Linked DNA regions of Homo sapiens: region 2 is linked to region 1. The links are contacts of gene promoters, found by promoter capture Hi-C in blood cells and fetal thymus (Javierre and others, 2016). All regions are on one chromosome and are shown on one strand. The core of a region is centred on a gene start or on the middle of the fragment in contact, and the rest is flanking DNA. Distances in the headings are between cores, read along the strand shown. Region 1 holds the start of ZNF200 (zinc finger protein 200). Region 2 overlaps ZSCAN32 (zinc finger and SCAN domain containing 32).

Region 1 (4,565 bases), core at 247-2,746:
GTAGGTCTTGGCCCAGCTTGGAGTCTGGCGGAACTCTCAGTATAAAGGACTGCTTTGGCTTTGGGGGCATAGGAACCACTTTTGCAGCCATCATGCCTTGCAACCACACACCACACTCGTTTCGCGGGGCCTCCAGAGCCACCTCTTACTAGAGGAAATCTGCCAGAGAGCCAAGCTGTAGACAGAGAAACCAGGGATTACCCAAAAGACCAGGCACGGCATTACTGCACTCCAATATGTGGCATGGCTGGTGAGGCTACATGAGATCTAAAGAAAACGACAGCTGGGATAGGGAAATCATAACTGAAACGCAGTATTTGAACAAGATATGCTTAGGAAGATGTGAAAGGAAGATCCTGAGAATGAAAAACAGAGACTGTGCAAACCTCAAGTCCAAAGGGAAGGGAGTAAGGGTGGAGCGGAGAAGGCCAAGGTCCAGCCTCCTGAGAAATACAAAGTGTGGCCAGGTACCGGTGGCTCACACCTGTAATCCCAGCACTTTGGAAGGCCCTGGCGGGTGGATCGCTTGAGTCCAGGAGTTCAAGACCAGCCTGGGCAACACAGCAAGACACCGACTCCATAAAAAAAAAAAAAATTAGCTGGGCGTGGCGACACAAGCCTGTGGTCCCAGCTACTGGGGAGCTGGGAGGATTGCTTGTGCCCAGGAGGTCGAGGCTGCAGTGAACTGTGATCGCGCCACTGCACTGCAGTCTGAGCGACAAAGCAAGACCCTGACTCTAAAAAAAGAAAGGAAAAGAGAAAGGAAAGAAGGAGGAAGGGAATCAGGGAAGAGAAAGAAAATAAAAGGAAAAAGAAAGAAAAGACAGAAAGAAAGACGGTGTGTAAAACCCACCAGGAATAGGTTAAATCAGGCTTGGAGAAAGAGCAATGGGCTAGAAGACAGGAAATCTGGGGTCAATACCGAGGACATCTGCCTAAAAGCAGGTTGGTCACTGAATCTGGCCATACTGTACCCCTCGAACCGAAGCTCCCTCCGGTGCCCTTTGGGCGGGGAGGCGGTTGGTGACTCTCCCGGGGAGCAGATGCAAGGCCGAGGAGGTGTCCACACACCGCCTGCCGACTCCTCTCCGCCGTCAAAGCTCTGCTGAGAGCGGCAGGCGACATCCCACTAAGGACCGCCGGGCCAGGCTCACTCTGGGGCCTCTTCCGCTGGTCAAGGAACACCTTTACCGTAAAGCTCAGCGTGCGCCCCTGCCTGAGGCGCTCACCAGGCTCCCTACCCGGCCTTGCTCCCTCAGCAACGGACACGCTCCGCTCCCCAGAGGCGGCCTCAGCCTGGTTCCCGCCCTCACGGAGCCCCTCACCTCTCGGGGCCTCTGCAGCCCCTGAGCGTTTGCTGGGGACGGCTCAGAGACTCAGGCTCCGGGAGAGATAGAAAAACTAGGCGCGAGCGGTCGAGCCCTCCCCTCGCCCTTCCGAGTGCCCTCACAGGTCGCCGGCGACTATTCGTTCGCGCCGCCGCCAGTTGAGGAGAACGGCAGGGACTCGGTGCCTTCTGGGAAGTCGGGCGCTCTGCGGCTGTGACGTCACAACCGGTGCCTTGTTTCCGGTGCAGAAGCCTGGTCTCCCCGTTCGGAGCCGGCAGTCTGCGCTTGAGACGTTAAGACTTGAGACAGGCCAGAGGAGCTCTCAGGGCCGGAGGGAGGCCAGGACGGCTGTAGCCTCTCTGTGGTTCTGCCTGGAAGACGGAAGGCAGGTGGTTGGCTCTAGTCATCCACGACGGGCTGGCACCTCTCCAGCTGCGGCCAGTCTAACCCCAGGGCCTGCTGGGAAATGTAGTTCGAATGCAAACAACCAATGGACGACCGTCAGGCGCGGCGGTTGGGGCGGGGCAGGCCCCCCCACCGCCCCACCCCCCGCCCACCCAGCGCCCGCGCTCCCCCCACCCCCCACCCCGCCACCCCCCTACCCCGCCACTCCCCCACCGCCCTACTCTCCCCACCCCCCACCCCCCTACTCTCCCCACCCCCCACCCCCCACCCCGCCACCCCCCACGGCGCCACCCCCCAACCCCCACCCCCCTACTCTCCCCACCCCCCTACTCTCCCCACCCCCCTACTCTCCCCACCCCCTACTCTCCCCACCCCCCTACTCTCCCCACCCCCCCACCCCCTACTCTCCCCACCCCCCTACTCTCCCCACCCCCCTACTCTCCCCACCCCCCCACCCCCTACCCTCCCCACCCCCCCACCCCCCTACCCTCCCCACCCCCCTACCCTCCCCACCCCCCTACCCTCCCCACCCCCCTACCCCGAGGCTTAAAGGAAGCAAGCTATCTCTCCGACCGGAAAATCAAGACGCCTCCGCGGTTTCCGCCTTTTACTGCGGTTCTCCAGTAAAAAGACTGCGGAGGCGGACAGGGTGTGGCCGCCATGGGACTCCGCCCCCGCTCTGGTGACTCCCATAGGTTAGAGATGGGGCACCGACATTGCCCACTCCAGCTTGCTAACTTCTACACTGCTGTCCGCACCGGCCGTCTTGTTTTTAAAGACATCTTAATTGCCCTTCTCCTACTGTCTCGGTTTCCTTTCTCAATTTCAGCTTCCTACGGAGGCCGAACAGAGTTTTGTGTTTGTGCGTTGTATCCACACTCGGTTCGTTCCCCAGTGACGCACTGATCAGGGTTCGGACAACTTGTGGGCAGGGATGGCCTTATTTCTCGATGTAATACCAGCCTCCAGAAAGTTGACAAAAGTAAAAATATAAATGAATGCCTCTTCTTAAAGTTAATTATACCTGACTAATGGCTGACGATGGCTTAAAATATGTTACAAAGAAACGAGTATGAAAACTGTGTGGCACCAAGACATTCTAGAAAAATAAGGAATATCTGCCTTTTCAGATCAAAATTTACTAAAAAGCCTCCGTTAATCAAAGCATTATGGTTTGAATTATGAGGCAAAACAGATAACTGAGATGTCTTGAAGTAAAATATAAACCTGTGTGATTGTATTTTTTAAGAACTTTTTCTTGACTCTGTTAACAAACAAGAAATAGACTGGAAGATAATTGTAAAGATTAGCTACACAAAAGATTATACATTCCTAAGACAAAATGAACCCCTGCCAACTGACAAAAAGCAAAGGCAATGAGGAGCTCTTCCCGAGAGGAGGAAAACTAATTGGTCATTAACATTTAAAAAGATGCTTAACCACACTACTAGTCAAGATTATCACTTTTAAAGGGAACCACATTTTTCACCTATCAAACAATGAAGGTGGAGAAATAGGCACTCCTTTCGCTGGTAGTGTGGTGTGTGAAGTCATCTTGTAATATATATTAAAATTAAAAGTACAAGTATGTACCCTTTGACCTTCACAATCTCATCTGTGAATCTGATGTCTACAAATTTCTTGTAGAATTCTTTGTAGTGACAAAAACTAGAAATGACATGCATGTTCATACGTAAGGAAAGGAGTAAATTGGTGCATTCATACTCTGGAAATTACCCAGCTATGAAAAAGAATGGATTGGAACTATATGTACACCTGGAGGGATGGCCATAAAATATTACATGAAAAAGTTTCAGAGCTACATATATTATGCATAATTATATTTTTGGAACAAACAAAACACCTTGTGTATGTTTGTGTTGAGGGATACACAATAGATTATTAAAATGGTTACTCATGGGATGGCCAGGCGCAGTGGCTCATGCCTGTAATCCCAGCACTTTGGGAAGCCAGAGGTGGGCTGATCACTGGAGGTTAGGAGTTCAAGACCAGCCTGGCCAACATGGGGAAACCCCATCTGTACTAAAAATACAAAAATTAGCCGGGCGTGGTGGCGGGTGCCTGTAATCTCATCTACTTGGGAGGAGGCTGAAGCACAAGAATTGCTTGAACCCAGGAGGTGGAGGTGGACGTTACAGTGAGCCAAGATCGCACCACTGCACTCCAGCCTGAGTGACAGGCACACCAGCCTGGGCGACAGAGTAGTAAGACTCTGTCTCTAAATAAATACGTAAAATAAAAATAAAATGGTTACTCAGAGGGAGGGAATGGAAATGGAGAAAAGGGAGAGATTACACTTTTTTTTTATTGTGTCACTTCATTTAATGAGCACGTCAATTTGGTAACTAAAAATAATAAAACCTTAAAAAAAAATAGAACAATAGGCCGGGCATGGTGGCTCATCCCAGCACTTTTGGAGGCTGAGGTGGGCAGATCATCTGAGGTCAGGAGTTCGAGAGCAGCCTAACATAGTGAAACCCGTCTCTACTAAAAAATACAAAATTAGCCGGGCGTGGTGATGCATGCCTATAATCCCAGCTACTCAGGAGGCTGAGACAGGAGAATCATTTGAACCTGGGAGGCAGAGGTTGCAGTGAGCTGAGATCATGCCACTGCACTCCAGCCTGGGTGACAGAGCAAGACTCCATCTTGTGGGGGCGGAAAAAAAAGAAAAAAGAACGATAAAGATTTTTTAAAACAATTTGATGGAAAAAAAGAACGATAAAGATTTTTTAAAACAATTTGATGGAAAAAAAAGAACGAAAAAGATTTTTTAAAACAATTTGATGGAATCCTGTTTTTAGAATCTAA
Region 2 (4,225 bases), core at 1,726-4,225, 150 kb after region 1:
AAGACTTAGTAAGAAGAGAGCCCTCTGCACCCTGGGAAACCTGGATTATAATTCTGTCTTTACTGTGGATTGAGCCAAAGACTGTTGTGTGCCCATCCTTCCTCCCTCTAAGAAGTATTTCCATTTCTAGAAGAGAGATGATAATCTACTCTCCCTCTCAAAGATACCACTTAGAGGGCCTGCTTTCCATGTGGGGTTGTATCTCTCCTTTCTTTCTGTGAGTTACTTTTCCCTCTCTGACCTCCACTTATTTGAGTTTCACCCATTGACCCAGATAATAATAGGAAATCCCTAGTAATAGACATAGATGAGAACTCTCTCCTTCACCTCCATAACTAATCTATCACCGCTACATTATGTTGACTATGCGCCCAAAATGTACAAAACCCATCCACTTTTTTCTGTATCCACTGCCATCACTAGACTAGACAACTGAGTTTCTAGACCTCACAGCTAAGAAAGTCTTACCTGGTCTCTTTGCTAGCACTTTTTTTTTTTTTTTTTTTGAGATGGAGTCTCACTCTTTTGCCCAGGCTGGAGTATAGTGACCTGATCTCGGCTCACCGCAAGCTCTGCCTCCCGGGTTCACGCCATTCTCCTGCCTCAGCCTCCCGAGTAGCTGGGACTACAGGCACCCACCACCATGCCCAGCTAACTTTTTGTATTTTTAGTAGAGACAGGTTTCACCCTGTTAGCCAGGGTGGTATCGATCTCCTGACCTCATGATCCGCCCGCCTCAGCCTCCCCAAGTGCTGGGATTACAGGCGTGAGCCACCGCGCCCTGCCCCTTGCTACCACTTTTAGCTCTTCTGACCTATTCTCCACACAGCAGCCAGAATAAGAGAATTGTGTCTTTCCCTGCCTAATTATTCAGTGGCTTCCCATTATACTTATCATAAAATCCAAACTCTTAGCATCACATGTGATAATAAAGTCCAGTCAGGAAAACAGAAACCATTCTTGATGTTTCAAAGAGGGGACTTAATGTAAAGAATTTGTAAAGTGGGTGTGGTAGAATTGAAAAAAAAAGTGTAAAGGGAAAACTGCAGTGACAGAGATAGTAACTGTAGGAAACAGCTACCACACATGGGGTCTGGATAGAGAAAGGGTTGGGTTTACCAGACCTTGGAAGCTTGGAAGAGAGGCCCCGCAGAGCTGGGACTTGGATTTGGCGAGGGTGCTGGGGGTTGGGAGCTGGGAGCTGGGCAGTGTTGCCTGACTGGTGCTGATACCTCTGAAGAGTCCAATGAGGCTGCTTCTGGAAGAAGCTTTGTTCACTGCTTTTTTTTTCCGCTTAACATGGGGAATCTTGCACGCTGGAGTGCAGTGGTGTGATCTTGGCTTACTGTAACCTCTGCCTCCTGGGCTCAAGCCATCCTCCCACCTCAGCCTTTCGAATAGCTGCAAGCACGTACCACCACTCCAGGCTAATTTTTTATATTTTTTTGTAGAGATGGGGCTTTGCCATGTTGCCCAGGCTGGTCTCAAACTTCTGAGCTCAAGCGATCGGCCCACCTCAGCCTCCCAAAGTGCTGGGATGACAGGTGTGAGCCACCACCCCTGGCCCTGTTCACTGCTTTATATTTGGCTCCAGTACCTCATATATTATAGGCAATCACATGTTTCCGGAATAAATGAATGGATTCTCCCAACCCTTACCTGTCTACTTCAGGTCATCTAGAGTGGCTGACAGGCATGGATTGGAGACTCTAACGGTACTTGTTTTCATTTTTCTGCCCAGCAGACTAGAGGACAAAGCAGCCTGGAGGGCAGAGGCAACCTAAACATGCAAGGAGTTCAACAGTTGTACCCCCATTTACCTGGCCACGGTAGGCCCAGGAATGGGAGGAGCCTACTAGTGAGGCCCCGAAGTGTCTCACTTTCCTTATCTCTTCCGTTGACTTGCACTGGCTCTCCTCATTTATCCAGCCACCTTCTCTGAGCTGATAATCCAAAGCCCATCAGTAACTAGTCCACTCCTGTCTCCTCTTCTCCACCATGAATCACCAATGAAGTCATGGTGTCCCAAATAGGTCACATTCCAGCCCACCTCTTTGTCGAGGCCCTTTGAAGATGTTTTTTTCTGAGTTGAGCAGAGGCTGTGAAATATGTGACTTTCGGAGCTGTCCTGCAGAGCTTCTCCTTAGGGGCATGGTCGAGGACAGCAAATGCAGAGAGAAGCAGTGGCCCAGGCAGAGCTCAATAAAGAAACAAAAGTATATTCTCCTCTTCTGCCTTTGCTTCTCCTTCGTCCCCTTAAATTCTTTTTCTTCTGGATTTGAGGTAGAAAGCACATTCTCCTTTGCTCATATTTAACTTTTCTCACTTAGAAAAAAAGTGAAGCTCGCTGCCAGCACTCATTTAATTTCATATAAACATGCTCTCTGAGGGTGAAGCAAATGTGACTGATTTTCAATGTGAAAATAAAATATAAAAACTGTTCTTGGAGTTATTTCTAAACAGAAATAACATTAGAATTGCCTGAATCATCAGAATTGTCTTTCAGAAAAATCAGATTCATCAAATAGATCTTTGGCTTACAACTGTTAGAGAATGATGTTATCATATGTAAGAATGCTATGTTTTCTAGGATTTGACATTTTCAGCGATTGAGAATTACTGTATTTTGTAAAAGGAAATACCACTACTAAATGCTGTAAATAGAATGATGTCTTTTGTTTCCAAAGTTGATATACTAGAGCAATGCGAAAATAATAAAAGAGAGATGGCCAGGAGCAGTGGCTCACACCTGTAATCCCAACACTTTGGGATGCTGAGGCAGGAGGATCACTTGAGGCCAGTTCAAGACCAGCCTGGTCAACATGGCAAAACCCTGTTAGTTGGGCATGGTGGTGCAGGCCTGTAGTCACAGCTACTTGGGAGGCTGAGGCACGAGAATTGCTTTAACCTGGAATGCAGAGGTTGCAGTGACCTGAGATCGCACCACTGCACTCCAGTCTGGGCGACAGAGAGAGACCCTGTCTCAAAAAATAATAAAAGCAAGCTATTTTGTAGCAAAGTTATCTCAGGGTAAACACTGCAGCTGCCAGTGCTGCTGGCAAGTATTCTTGGGGCAAATGCTTAACTTTTCAAAAAGCTCAAGAGACCATGATGCTTGTTTTGCACCATACCTTAGAAAACGTCCTACTACCTTGTGTGCACCAGCCAACAACCATAGACAAATGTACCTATCTTCTACCACTTTTTATCCATGGCAATTTCATAAAAGTTTAACTATCTGTGACTCATCACAGATGAATTTTAAGTTTAGTTCCTAGTGTTTCTCATATCCATCCTTCCTTTCACCTACCATTCTCATCTACTAAACTCTTCAGGAGTCAGAATCTCTTGATGAACCTTGTTTTTCCCTTGTTTCTGTGATCTTCCCTCTCATGATGGCACAAACCCTTCCCAATCCAATTAATTCCCTCTTCCCCATTTCCTACCCCTATTCCTTCTCTGCATGTCCTACTGCCCTGAAGCAGGCTCTACACTTACATACATCATTTTCAGGACCCTGCAGGCTTCTGCACGAGTATAGTTTCTGATGGAGAAAATTACAACCAAAGGCCAAGGAAGTGGAGGGAGAAACAACTTTATTTTCATCAGAAATTAGTAATGTTTATAAATTTGTTTATAGTAGTTTGTAAATTATTATCAGAAATAGTAATGTCTATAAACCACTTACTTTAAGAGACAATCAGGAACTATGATGAGGGCAATAATAAAAGGAGAAATCTTACAAAAAATTAACCTGGATGTTGTGCTTGCTCTAAGGTTAAGTCACTTAGGGAAACAGATTCAGTATTATCCAATGGCTTAACCATCCTTCCTTCTTTCTGTTTGCTTTTTGGTGGTGGCTGGGTTACAAAGAGCAGTGTCTTCTGCCCTGAAGGTAGCAGTATTACGGTGGGTGCCTAGAGGTCAATTATTGGTTTAGAAGAGATTCAGGCCCTTAACTTTTACATGTGCTTTCCAGGAAAGGAGACACTTTCTTTCTCAGCCCTGTGTGAGGACTATGTTAGCCCAGAAAGTGTTCTTGGACCACTGGGTGCCCATTCTCAGTGCTAGGAACAGGAAGACCCTGGTTTCCTGGTAGAATTTATGGATCCTACAGCTTTCTCTCCATCAAACTTTAAGTCACAGTAAGATAGGACTCTGGAGTCACAGGCACAGCCAGGAGAGGTCAGCGTCCTTATGCTGACTCCTGGTCCTAGACATGGGT

Evidence for each region. The method cuts DNA at HindIII sites, captures the fragments that hold promoters and counts their contacts. A CHiCAGO score of 5 or more calls a contact.
Region 2: a fragment that was not itself captured here is called in contact with the fragment with the promoter of ZNF200 in region 1 in 1 of 17 cell types (naive CD4 T cells); the score reaches 5.5 in naive CD4 T cells.

Annotation. Positions count from the first base shown.
Region 1 is chr16:3,233,662-3,238,226 of GRCh38, forward strand. It overlaps ZNF200 (zinc finger protein 200), which reads right to left and starts at 1,497. Exons shown (of 5, transcript NM_198088.3): 1 at 1,326-1,497; 2 at 1-175. The coding sequence starts at 94. RefSeq lists enhancers at 1,536-1,595, 1,606-1,815. The HindIII fragment of the contact is 8,399 bases long and covers 1-4,565 here.
Region 2 is chr16:3,378,506-3,382,730 of GRCh38, forward strand. It overlaps ZSCAN32 (zinc finger and SCAN domain containing 32), which reads right to left. Exons shown (of 7, transcript NM_001284527.2): 7 at 3,580-4,225. The region is part of intron 1 of LOC105371059 (a long non-coding RNA gene); the gene reads left to right. Among named protein-coding and RNA genes, the nearest start is that of ZSCAN32, 20 kb to the right of the region's middle. The HindIII fragment of the contact is 3,418 bases long and covers 1,267-4,225 here.